2 separate regions of the Homo sapiens genome follow, and region 1 is linked to region 2. The links are contacts of gene promoters, found by promoter capture Hi-C in blood cells and fetal thymus (Javierre and others, 2016). All regions are on one chromosome and are shown on one strand. Each heading gives the region's core, a stretch centred on a gene start or on the middle of the fragment in contact. The rest is flanking DNA. Distances are from core to core; before and after follow the strand shown.

What was found. Contacts are between HindIII fragments. The CHiCAGO score rates a contact against its expected background, and 5 or more counts as called.
Region 1: a contact is called between a fragment that was not itself captured here and the fragment with the promoter of CD300C in region 2, in 1 of 17 cell types (monocytes). The highest score is 6.3, in monocytes.

What each region holds. Positions count from the first base shown.
Region 1 is chr17:74,586,862-74,593,189 of GRCh38, forward strand. CD300LD (CD300 molecule like family member d) reads right to left here and starts at 5,422. Exons shown (of 4, transcript NM_001115152.2): 1 at 5,302-5,422; 2 at 1,650-1,988. The coding sequence starts at 5,341. It overlaps CD300LD-AS1 (CD300LD antisense RNA 1), which reads left to right. Exons shown (of 3, transcript NR_171003.1): 2 at 3,658-3,884; 3 at 5,123-6,328. RefSeq lists an enhancer at 5,326-5,455. The HindIII fragment of the contact is 379 bases long and covers 4,483-4,861 here.
Region 2 is chr17:74,543,484-74,550,699 of GRCh38, forward strand. It overlaps CD300C (CD300c molecule), which reads right to left and starts at 2,632. Exons shown (of 4, transcript NM_006678.5): 1 at 2,239-2,632; 2 at 1,126-1,464. The coding sequence starts at 2,299. It also overlaps a transcript of LOC107985074 not described here. The HindIII fragment of the contact is 25,491 bases long and covers 1-7,216 here.

The DNA.
Region 1 (6,328 bases), core at 3,422-5,921, 45 kb after region 2:
TTGGGTTTTTGAACCAGGAGAATATATTGCTCAGCTACTGCTTATTACCTGCCAGTTACACCCTTCTTTACGGAGGTTGGGAGTTCGAGACCAGCCTGACCAACATGGAGAAACCCTGTCTCTACTAAAAATACAAAATTAGCTGGGCATGGTGGTGCATGCCTGTAATCCCAGCTACTCGGGAGGCTAAGGCAAGAGAATCTCTGGAACCCAGGAGGTGGAGGTTGTGGTGAGCCGAGATCGTGCCATTGCACTCCAGCCCAGGCAACAAGAGCGAAACTCCATCTCAAAAAAAAAAAAATTGATATTATCCGGTCCTGAACTCACCAAAGGGCCATCTGAGCCTGAAATTTTCTTCGTGAGAAGATGGCAAATGACAAATTCTATTTCATTAAAAGATATAGAGCTATTCCAGTTATCTATTTCTTCTTGTGACTGGTAGTTTGTGCCTTTCAAGGATGTTTTTCCATTTCATTTAACTTGTTGAATATATTGGCATAAAAGTTGTTTACGACACATATTCCCTTATTATTCTTTTAGTAGCTATAAAATCTGTTGTAATGTTACCTCTCTCATTTCTGATGTTAGTAATTTATATCTTTTTCCTGATCAGTCTAGGTAGAGGTTTAACAGTGTTTCTGATGTTTTCACAGAAAACATATCTCATTTCATTGATTTTTCCCTATTACTTTTGTTTTCGATTTCATTAATTTTTCATTGTGGTCTTAATATTATCTGTGTTCTGATGTTTGCTTTGAGTTTACTTTGATCTTTTTTTTCCCTAGTATCTTGAGCTAAGGCCATTGACTTGAGGCCCTTCTCCTTTTCTGATACAGGGACTTAGTGCTATAAAGAAGTTCCAAGAAGGCACTGGCAGGGATTGGGGTCTCTGGTTACCAGGGAAGGGGGTCCCTTTGGCCTGTGGGCTGAAACTGGAACCATCACCCTGTCATCTGTGGGCAACAGACTCAGGCACTGAGCTGTGCAGAGAAAAAAAAAATGTGCCTAGAAAGACTTAATCCCATCCTGGAGGGAGCCCTGGGAGCCATGGGGTCATTAAGAGATCCCCTCAATCCCAAGCGGTCCTTCAGGGTCCTATGAGACCTGTCTTAGTCTACTTTTTCTTGCTTATAACAGAATATCTGGAATTGAGTCATTTATAAGGAAAAGGAATTTGTTTCTTACAGTTATGGAGGCTAAGATGTCCGAGGTTGAGGAGCCACATCTTGTGAGGGCCTTCTTGATGGCAGGGACTCTCTGCAGAGTCCCAAGGTGGCTCCAGGCACCTCGTGGTGGCGGAACTGAGTATGCTAAGTCAGGTCTGTCTGCCTTTTCTTATAAAGCAGTTCCATTCCCATGATAACCCATTCATCCTTTAATCCACGAATGGATTAATTCATTCATGGGAACTCTGCCCCCATGACCCAGTCACCTTTTAAAGGCCTTGTCTCTCAATACTGCCACATTGGGGATTAAGTTTCAACACGAGTTTTGGAGGGACAAATATTCAAACCATAGCAAGACCTCAGGACTCAGACACCCTCTGTCACAGGTCACTCTGAGTGACAGTTAATTTACTCAAGTGGGACCTCAGGGACCAGGACAGAGCAGGACCTGAGAGACACACACGTATATACACTCCCTCTTACCTGGGTTAATGGTCACTTGAACTTTGACCCCAAGATCAATTCCAGGTCTCTCAGTCCCACACCAATAACTGTCAGCATCATCTCTTTTGAGATTCTCCATGGTCACGGTGAACACGTGGTTTTTCTGATTGTCCCTGATGGAAACTCGATTCTTCTTTACCTCCTGCTCTGATCCATTTGTTTTAACAAGGATGTTACAGTAATTCCAATCAGCTCCTTGACACCGCCACTTCAAGTAGGTCTCCCAGCCTGAGCCATAAGCACACTGCACAGTCAATGAGCCCTGCTCCGAGCCATTCACTGTTGTTGGACCAGTGATTTTAGCGGCAATGGAGTAACCTGGAAAACGCAAATTCATGTGTCGTCACCTCCCACCCCAAGGGCAGGGCCACAGCCTCGTGCATTGGGAGTAGCAGCCAAATCCAACTGCCTTATAACAGTCAAGGAAGCAATACATTTTCCTCAAGACAAATCTTTGTCCTTCAAAATTCCACTGGGTCAAAGTCACCAGGAAAATCACTGAAGAGCACAACTGCAGATCCCCAAAGAAACACAAATGTTGGCATTGAGCAATAATAGCTTCCTGCAGTTCACCCCTCTCTCTTTCCCTATGGCCAGCAAATCTTTATATTCCAAGGAATGCTCTTTGGCAACCATCTTTGTGTTATACTGGTCTGATGGGGAGGAAATGGCAGAAGGCCCTTTTCCAGAAGAATGATTGCTGCCTTGATGCTTGGCTGTTCCTAGTGGTTCTAATGGTTTCTGGTGGCTCTGCTGTAGTTAATCACCCTGAATGAATCCCTTTGAAATCAACCAAATAGTGATGCCAACTGGTCTCTATCTGCTATGGGATCCACATCACACAGATCTCCATTTCGCCATACAGTGTTATAAATTCCACTTCCAAAATTCCTAGGAAAAGCTAACTTTTAAGATAAACACAAGTAAAGGTTAGGTATAAACAGAGCAGCACCCATTCAACACCCTTCTGCATCTTATAAGTTCTTCTCTAAACATAATGGACATGATTCAAGTCAGTTAAAGGGTGAGGAACGGGCATACCTAATTAGCTCCACTTTTCAAACAATTTGATCCAGGACAAGACTAGTCTCCATGAACTTGTCAGCCTAATCTTTCACTTGAAAACAATTCAAAACAGTGGAAATACCTTAAGTGAGAGCTTTGCCAGAAATTCTTTAAATTCAACTGACCTAAAGGGAGACCCATCTAAAGAAACGATTGATTTTGATGATTTATGCACTGGCAATAAACCATAGCTGTGATTAGTGCAGCATAAACTTGAGATGGAACTAGAAGCACATTGGAGCACTTGAAGAAGCCCTGGGGGCAATTCCTGTGGCAGGAGAGAGGTTGTCTCTGAAACGCCAAGAGACACCCAAGGTCGTGGGTAAGAGCTCAGGCTGTGCCAGAGTGCTTGGGTTTGAATCCTGGCTCTACCACTGATAAGTTTTGTGAACCTGGGCAAATTAACCTCTCTGTGTGATACGGTTTGTCTGTGTCCTCACCCAAATCTCATCTTGAATTGTAGCTCCCATAATTTCCACATGTTGTGGGGGGCACCAGTTGGGAGTTAATTGAATCATGGGGCGGTTTCCCCCACATTGTTCTCGTGGTAGTGAATAAGTCTCATGAGAGCTGATGGTTTTATAATGGGAAACCTCTTTCACTTGGCTCTCATTCTCTCTCTTGCCTGCTGCCATATAATACATGCCTTTCACCTTCCACCATGATTGTGAGGCCTCCCCAGTCATGTGGAACTGTGAGTCCATTAAACCTCTTTTTCTGTGTAATTTACTCAGTCTCGGGTATGTCCTTATCAGCAGCGTGAAAATGGACTAATACACTGTGACTTCGTTTTCTATAAGTGGGAATAGTAATGGCATCTACCTCTATGTTACTATATTATGTTTGTTATTATTATTATTATTATTATTACCCCTGGATGAATGAAAACTTTAGACTTCATTGGAATGTCTTGAAAAACCAGGGTCACCATGGTGGGAGCGGAAGACAATTTCACCATAAACAGGCAGAGCTCCACAACCCAAGGAATTCCTGGAACAGAAATTGGACTCCATGCCCAAATCTGCTTTCTATGGCATCTGAAGGGAACTAAGAAACTACACACGACCTCCTGGGGAAAGATGGGTATAGGGGCTTCATTTGTTCACTCTGAAAAAAGTTCTACATCAGAATGGAAAGACAACAATTAAGGTAAATATTTAAAGAAAAACTACATCTGGAAGTTATTTATAAGAAATAAGAGCTGGGTGTGGTAGCTCACACTTGTAATATAACAACTTTGGGAGGCTGAGGCAGGAGAATCGCGTGAGCCCTGGAGCTTGAGAGCAGCCCTGGCAACATAGCGAGACTAAATAAATAAATAAATATTAGCTGGGTGTCGCACCACATGCCTGTAGTCCCAGCTACTCACTCAGGAGGCTGAGGTGGGAGGATGGCTTGAGCCTGGGAGGTCAAGGCTGCAGTGAACCCTGATCCCAGCACTGTACTCCAGATTGGGTGACAGAGCACACCCTGTCTCAGAAGGAAGGAAAGGAAGGAGAATATATCTGAAAATTGTTTACAGAATATAAATTTGAAGCCAGGCATGGTGGCTCACACCTATAATCCCAGCACTTTGGGAGGCCAAAGTGGGAGGATCACTTGAGCCCAGGAGTTTGAGACCAGCCTGGGCATGAAAGTGAGTCCTCATCTCTACAAAAAAAAAAAAAATAAAAATAATAATAATAATAATAATAATCTATTTTAAAAGAAAATAAATTTGAGATTGGAAGGAAAAATTTTCTTACAAAGCTTGATCTGAGTATAGATAATATGAGAAGCACATAGATTTGTTACATTTTAACAGAAATGAAAACACTACGTATCAAAATTTGTTGACATGACAGCCAAAGCTGTACTCAAATATAAATCCTTGGGAAAAAGGTTTGATGCTTCCTCAAAAAGTTAAACATAGAATTAACATAGGATTCAGCCATTTTACCCCTAGATATATACCCAAGAGAACTGAAAACATATCTCCATACAAAACTGTGCTATGAAAGTTCATAACATTATTACTAACAATTTTTAAAAGGTAGAAACAACCCTAAGGTTCATTGACAAATGACTGGAGAAACCAAATGTGGTATATCCACTGTGAAATACTATGCAGCCATGAAAAAGAATGAAGCTTTGATTTGTGCTACAACACAAAGTAACCTTGAAACATCATGCTAAGTGAAAGAAGCACTCCAGCCTGGGTGACAGAGCGAGACACCAGCTCAAAAAAAAAAAAAAAAAAAAGTTCTTCAAGAATGGACTCACTCATTAGTTCCTTCCTTCATTGATATCTGTTCATTCATCTGTTTATATGGAACAGTCAGGGTTGAGAACCACTGTTCCAACAAGAAGCTATACTTGTTTTGTTTTGTGTGTGTTTGTTTCTGCAGCATCTAACACAGAACCTGTCAGATAACAAAAACTTGATTGCTATTTAATGAATATGGGCATGGATGGATGAATTGGCGCTGTCATTTTCCCTGACATGTCTCCTTCCTGAGAACAGAGCGTCTCTGTCTCCAAGCCAGCCGCTGTCATTCCAGTGCCTTAAAGCTCCAGCCACACTCACCTGGGAGGATGAGAAGCAGCAGAGATGGGGACAGCCACATGGTCCTGTCTCCTCTCCTCTCCTTGGTGATCACAGGTGTCTGGTGCCCTTCAGGGACTTGAATCCAAGCTCGGAAGTCAACACCGCAAACCTACTCGAATCTCCTTCAAGTCTCTTGCTCACTTCCTGTTACATCTGTAGCTACTTCTCTTTTTACATATTAGGAGAAAAGAGGTGTCATTCTTTGAAAAGACTAAGGTACAGTGTATGTTGCAAGGTGTGCCCAAACTTTTGTGCATGTGGAAAAGAAAATGTGTCCGGGACTGGTCAGGTTTGCACGGGAGTGCACGTAGGAGCCAAGGAGCAGGAGGAGCCAGGAGGAACCCAAGCATTGAGGAGCTGCGGGATCTACTGCCTGGAGGAGAGGACGGACAAGGCCAGCCATGAGGAGTGCAGGGAGAGGAGCACTTTGGGAAGACCACAGTGCACAGGACTCACACCCAGCCTTGCTGGAGAAAGCCCATGCCCCAGGCTTCTTCCAGGCAGCCCCACTGTAAGACATCTCATTGCCTCTTCCTGCCCTGGGCTGTCTGACCCACTGCCCCTTCCCCCAGGAACACTTCCACTGGGATCATGAGTCACTCTGAAGCCACTCTGAAATCACTCTGAAGCCAAAGCTGGGCTCAGTGGGGAAGGTCAGGAATGGAGAAATTGCCTTTTCTCGTTAGCCTCCTCTTGCCCTGATTTCATCCTCCCTATCCCTGCACACTTTCCCCTGGCTGCTGTTGTAATCTACTTGTTCTGCTGACGCCCGAACTGACTTCTTTCCCGGTCTCTCCCCACTTTCTTTAGATGGTCCCTTCCCTCTTTCTCTCCCTTTCCCTCCTGAATCGATTCATTTTTTCTCTCCTGTTTTATATTTTCCATATCTGTGGGCTTTGTTCTACATTTGGGGAGCTTTTTATATTGTTTATTTCATGCTTGTACTTTCCCTTCCAATCCTTGGATCAAATATTGATTTTAGAGACTGTATTTTTATTTCGAAAAG
Region 2 (7,216 bases), core at 1,382-3,881:
CCTCTCAGCAGGAGGGAATGCCCAGGAAGAAAGATCTAGAGAGGGGATGCCCGGTGAAGCCTGGGCGGCGGCCCGTGGTGAATACAGCTGGATAAGGGCCCTTTCCTCCTCTCCCTGGCGCCCTCAGGTGGGATCTTAGCTCCTCACTCCTAGATAGGAAGGCACAAAGGGCGCAGGAGGGACACGTCGCCCCCGGGGAAATGGAGAACAAGAAGATGCTCCGAGGAACCTGGGACATTGTCAGAAGAAAACGATGGAAAAGCAACCACACTGAGGCCACTGGGTTTGTGTCTTGTGAGACAGGAGGGGGCCTTTGAGGGAAGAATGATCTTCGGCACGGGAAAGGGCCCTCAGGTCCGTGCCAGTCTCAGCTCATTTCCATCCACAGGTCCCTTTGCCTGAGGGGGCAATTTCTGGGGTTCCCTCCTGTGGTAAAAGGTGCCAGAGAATAAGGGGGACACACAGGTCAGCCTCAGGGGCAGGATGTGGTTCCCAGGAGCATGAGAACCCCACCCAGGGCTCTGGGGCTCCTTCCTGTGTCCTCCAGTGGCTGCTGCAGGAGCTCCCAGGACAGGGCTGTGAGGCTGCGGCCTCAGGACCCTCCAGACAGGGCGGCATCCATGCAGGCCCCAGGGCAGGGGCAGCCTTGAGTGAGAGGAGCCAATGATGGGGGGGTCCAATTCCCCGTGGGGAAGAGCGAGTTAGACCCAGGCGGGACAGTGGGCACCCTTCAGTATGGATCCGGCCCTTGTCAATACAGGGAGGTAGCAAGGACCCCAGAGTCAGGGGTGGCCTCACAGACCCCACCCAGGAAAGTTTCAGGCCTGAGGCCGTGAGGGAGGGCCCACAGCGGGGGGTCTCCAGCCACAGGGCCAGGGTGCTTTTGTGGGCGCCCACCCTCCCAACACACACATGCAGGTGCACACACACACAAACCACACCACAACTCCTATGCAGGCACGCATACACAAAGACGCACTCACACTCATCCACACACAGCGGCACACAGTGTCCTGACTCACCAACCCCCAGGCTCACACCCTCCTGTTCCACTTCTTTCTTCAGGGACAGAATGACCAGCCCTAGGCTCAGGCAGGCCTGGTGCTGAGAAAAGGAGGGGCTCACCCGGGAACACGGACACCTCAACCTCGACAATGGGATCATGAAAGTCTCGGAGCCACGGTGTATCCACCCCACACCAGTAGGTGCCTGCGTCCTCCTCTGTGAGATTCTCCAGGGTCACTGTGAAGCTGAGGTTTGCAGGACTGTCCCTGATGGACACTCGGCCATTCCTTTTCCCTGCTGACCCTTTGGTCTCCACAATCTTGTCACATCGGAGAATCTGTGGTGGTCTGCACCAGAATTTGTTGAGGGTCCTGTGTTCCTTCTCATAGCGACACTGCACACTCAGGGATCCCCCCACGGGGCCCGCCACGGTCATGGGGTGGCTCAGAGGAAAATAGCCTGAAAAATACAAGCCAAAATCCTGTCTCCTTACCAGAGGGGCCTGGTCAGGGGTGCCGCAGTGTCAGCCCCTCATGGACCCTGGGCGTGTGGAGAAGGCAATGGCAGGCAGGCAGCCTTTGTCCACCCAGGAACAGGGACTGAGGGTGGGAGGCTCCCTCTGTGCAGAGGTGGGAAGGGCATGGGAAGTTTCCATGGAGACTGGAAAGGCAAGGCTAGGGAAACACTGGGTGTGTGCGGGCCTGTGTGTGCATGTGAGTGTGACTCTGTGTGTGTGACTGTGTGAGTGTGACTGTCTGTGTGAGTGTGACTGTGTGTGACTGTGTGTGCATGTGTGACTGTGTGTGCATGTGAGTGTGACTGTGTGTGCATGTGTGACTGTGTGCATGTGTGTGTGAGACTGTGTGAGTGTGACTGTGTGTGCATGTGTGTGAGACTGTGTGAGTGTGACCGTGTGTGCGTGTGAGTGTGACTGTGTGTGTGATCGTCCCAGATAAAATTTGTGATTGGATAACTTTGGCAATGACAGTCACAGCATCACCTCCCACCAGGGCTTCCTGTCTCGGGCACAGAGGAATAGGCCTCCCCCGTGCTGTGCCCTGCCGCCTGCTGTCCCCTGGTGAGGCAGCTGCTGACCGCTCCTGGGTGCTCCTTTGCCCTCCTCCCCTCTCCCTGCCCCACTCCCCTCTATGACCGCTACTCCAGCGCCTGCACCCCTCCCTGCCCTCTCCCACTCAGGACAGAGCTCCCCAAGTCCAGGGTCGGCCCACTCACCTGGGACAAGCAGGAGGAGCAGAGCTGAAGACCGCCACGAGGCCCAGGCCCTGGCAGTCATTCCTGTAACACGAATGTCACCTGCCACTGTGCAAGACCCCAGGAGGGGACAAAATGTAATCTCCTCCCAGCAGATCTGAGCTTCGCTTCTGCTTTTCTTCTGCTCTCTGCTTCCTTGTCCAGCCCTGTCTCAGGTCTGAGGCTGGAGAGGGTCAGGGTACAGGAAGCTCAGGGAGAGAGCCGCCTGGGCTGAGGCCGGTGCTGACAGCTCTGGGATGGTGCTAGTGGCTCCTCTCAACCCTGACGTCTGGCAAAGTCCAGGGTCCCTTGGGTGGCGATGCAGCCACTTCCCCACAGCCCACAGCTTCTGGCTTCAGTGTGTTACTCACACTGCAGAAGGCAGAGCCAAGCTGGGCCATTTCCTACCACATGGGCTGCTCCACCCTCTGTGACATGTCACTTCCTGGTCAGGATGGACAATCTTGTGGTTGGAGGCTAAATCTGCCACCTTCTTTAGCCTTGGAGGTGACCAGAGAGAGGTTGTGTCCCTTAATCTTCAGCTAGGTCCCCGCAGAGACCTCTGCCCCTAAGACCCCCAGCTCTTCTTCTGGCCTCAGAAGTTAGCGCTATGAACCCAGACACCATCTGCATGTCCCTTTTTGGTGCTGAGTCCCCAACCAGGTTAAAATCCCACAGGCTTGGGGAGTTTTCCTCTTGTGCCCCTGCCCCCAGACCTACACACACAGCGGCATCACCCACCCGAGACCCTCCTTTTCCATCTTGTCTTCTTGCCAAAATCCATGCCCCAGTGGGAATCAGGGCAGAGAACTGAGAATAGAGAGAGAGTTCAGACATGTGAAGATGCTGAAGTGGGACTTTGTGGAGGATGTGAGGCTGCGACTGAGCCAGCACACACCCCAGGGCACACGGAGGGGTGTTTGGTGACTGAGAGGACAGTTTGTCATGAGCAGCGGCTGCTGGTGTCTATCCTGGGTCCACTGTGATGGCCAGGGGCCTCCGCAGGGAGCAGACATGGCAGACAGGCCTTCCCAGGAGGCGGGAACCCAGGTCTATCCACACTCGGCATGGCTGGTTCTCCTGACGTGATGGGCTCAGGGTGTCTTTACCCTGGAAAGGGCAAGGAGGCTAGTCAGACACAGGATTTACCTCCTGTCTGTCCTGGAGGGCATCACCCCTTCTCCACCTTCTCATGCCTTAAGCATATTCCTTGACTCTCCCAACCCTCCTACAGATTTCTGTTCCTTTCTTCCTATCAGAGTCAATAGCACCAGTATGTGCACACAGCCATGAGGTTGAGTGGAGAGTGATGGGAGTCTGGGCAAACCTGGCACCATGAAGGGGTCTCTGCACCCTCGACCTGCCCTGTCCTCCCTCCATTTACACTCTCAGGGACACAGCATGCACTGGGGTCATTGGTGTTGATGCCCCCAGACTCACATCATGGGACTATCTCTAGCCCAGTGCAATCCCAGGGCCTCCAATTAGCCCAGTGCTCAGGTCTGGCCTGGGCCTGGCTTTGAAGTATCCCGGCTCTTTCATGGGCTGACCTGGTCTCCCCTTCTGCTCATACCCACCCCTTTCATTCTCCACAGAATCAGCAATGTGATCCCTGACACACACACATGGCCCTGGGGAGGCGCTGCTGAACTCCCAATGGCTCCTGCTGTCACAGGATGGCACCCACCTGACCTGGCCTCTGCACACAGGTCCTGGCAGGCCCCAGCACCTGGTAGGTGTCTCCAGCCTCCTGGATCCAGGTTCACACTGGTGCTGCCACCCTCCCCACTCGGGCCTTTGTCCAGACCCTCAACCTCCCACTCCTCTGCCTGGCTCCAGCCGACAGGGTTGCCTGCGTGTTCCTTGACCTTCCCGGGTTATGGTGGCTCGCTTTTTAGGGGTCCTCATGACCCATTTCACACTTCCCTCTCGTCTTCCTCAGTCTTTCTGTTGGCGAGTCAATGTCTGCTCCCATCTAGGGTGGCCGCCCCTTGAGAGCAGGTGCAGCCTCTTGTCTCATTCACAGCTGTGCCCGTTATCATTCCAGAGTCTGCCAAGTGCAGTTTAACAAACTGGCTGTTGAAAGGATGAATGGGTGAATGGATACATGACATCCTGATGTCCCACTGCCTCAGAGGACTTAGTCATCCAAAGTTGGTGCACCATTTCCTGCCCAGGCTGGGGAGGAGACAGGAAATGCTGTCTGGAGGCCCTGAAGCCACCTGACCCAGGGAGGCATCTGCCCCTGGCAGGACATGTGCACCTGCTCCTCTCTCTGCCTCAGGGCTCCTCCTCCAGGGATCCTGGCGCTCACCCCCTCCTTTCTCCTGATCCCTGCTTGCTCAGCGCCTATTAGAGGGGCTTCACCACAGTCCCCCTCAGCTCCTGCACAGCAGTCACCCCACTTCTCTTATTTCATTCCGTGACTCTTTTCATCTCTGACTTTTATATTTCTTCTGGAATTTATGCACGTATTTTTGCATCTGTTTATCATTTCTATCCCCCGCCTGGAATATGAGCTCAATGAAAACAGAGCTCCTTGCCTGGGTGTTCACGGCTGGACTCCAATGCCAGGTCAGTGTCTGATACACCAGAAGCTCCCATAAGTATCTGCTGAATGTAAAAATAGGTGAGGACCCCCAGGCGTGTCCCTCCTTGACCTGGTGGACTCATGGGGATCATCTGCCTCACAGGGGTCTTGGGTGTGGCATCCCTGGAACCGAAACGATGGTCAGCTGATAACGTCTTCCTTTGTCTGGATAAGCAGACATGGTCTGCACTAGTAAGCAAAAGACTCAGTTAACTACCACATTAAGAAGTCACGGCCCTCAACCAATTTCCATATTTGAGTCAGTTAAAAGCCACAGCCCTGGAATGAAGGGGAGGTCAGGTCCCCTTGAGGAAGGAGGAAGGAAAGGCCTGGCTACCATGCCACAACTCACACTGATAATCTTCTACCAGCCCTCCCGCAGGGACCAGAAGACACTGGCCAGGATGTGTCTACATAAGGAACGGAATTGTCAGGTTTTGGGGGGAATCCTGGATCCTCTTCTGCAGGGACCCCAGTCCTGAGAGGCCCAGCCTGGGGCTTAGTCCACTATTCTGAGCAAAGGCCTGTGGAGATCAGGGAACAATGGAGTTTTCACCCAGGTCTGACTTAGTGGGCATGATAGGTCCAGAATCTATGTATTGTCATTTCTTAAAGTTCGAAAGCATCATTGAATTGACACACTCAGCAAATGGAAGCAGCCACATATTCTGCACTCCTGGACCCGGGGAGTGTGGGCCATTATGGTGGCAAAGGTGCAGGGGAGTCCTGGACCTGCTCCTCCCTGTGAAAACGTTGAAGGAAGCAATGCCAAGCTCCTGGAGAAATGGAAAGGTGCAGAGAGGGCATCAGGCACTTAGAGGTGTTGGTGACAGCTCGAGGTTCAGCTGGCCAGGGCGTGCACATGAGACATGGAGTCACAGCTCAGGGCGTCTGTGTCCATCAGGTTCACGTGTGATTCATGGATCAGGCACAGGGAAAAGGCTGAAGGAGGCTCACAGAGAATTCCAGGAGATGTGGAGAGAGCAGCCCGGGAGGGAGTGGTCAGGAGGTCATTCCAGTCCCGCAAAGGGGTTCTGTCGCAGTGCAGGGCCTTGATGGACAGTAGATGCTACTGGTTCTCACCCTCTGGCCAACTCTGCCTGCTTCCAGAGCTTCTCTGAGGTCCGTTCACCCAGACGACGGCACCCAGCATGCTCAGGAGCAGGGGCAGCTCCAGGACCAGGAGCAGGACGTAGGGGCTGCTGAACAGGGAGCTGTGGGGACACGGTGATGGCAGTGAGTCATCTCCCCAGGGGAAGCCCAGGTGCCCTCCACCTTCTGCCTGTCTGTGAACCCAGGTCCTGTGGCCACACAAATCCCTGTGAGGACAAACTCTGTATATGACAACTCCTCTAAAGAGATCATTAGACCCTGACCTTCAGCCTGAGAGTCCCTGGAGTCTCAGGACTGCCTATAAGGAAGCACGTGGCCGTGAAAATGGTGCATGAGGACAGGGAGGGATCCAGGTGAGAACCACACCCACAAGATCTCTACATCCCGGGGTTATTCACTGGCGCATGGAATCAGTCATGTAGTTTGATGCCTGTATGGCCATCATTTCCCGAGAAGGTGAGGACTATTCATGTTATTCACAAGTAACTGGTACCTGCCCTCTGGTTGCAAATATCAGCCTGTAAAATTCATGGTTGTTGAAGGAATGGAAGGAATGAATGAATGGCCCAGCTCAGCTCTCAGCTCCTCAGAGGACTGGGCTCATCAAACAGGATGAGACTCGGGCCAGGGCTGCAAGGGAGGCCAGGGGAGAGGGCCGGGGTCACCGGGCACCAAAACATCTGCCCCCTGCCCTGGCCTGGCCGGGTCCCAGGACTCCCTTGCAGGACATTTGCCTCACTCCTCCCTCTGCCTGGACCCCTCTTCCCCCAGACCCCAGAGCGCCCTGCTCCCAAATCCTGCAGGTCTCCACGCTCATGTCCTCTAATCCACAAACCCTCTTCTGATCATTGTCAGTGAAATAGCGACTCCAACACCCACACACATGCTCCCCAAACCCAAGGCACAAATATCTCTTCCCAGCAGTCATCAAACTTCGCTGTATTTGTCTGTCAGCCACTGTGCTGACCTGTTCACTGTGTGAATCCACCTGGTAGAACCCAAACTCCACCAGAGCAGGACTGTGGCTGAGTGGTTCCCTGCTGTGACCCTATCCTGACAGGAGCACCTGGCACTTAGTAGGACCTTCACATTAGGTGTGGGAGGCGTGAGCAAAGAAGGGACCAGAAGAAGAGAGACACAACCATCCCATCTCTCCCCAGCCTACAGGAAAGGCTGCCCAGGTGGCAGTCCTGGGGGCACGAACCTTACCCTGGGTGTGGGCTGGGATCAGGGCTGTCCTGTCTGGTAGAGCTGGGC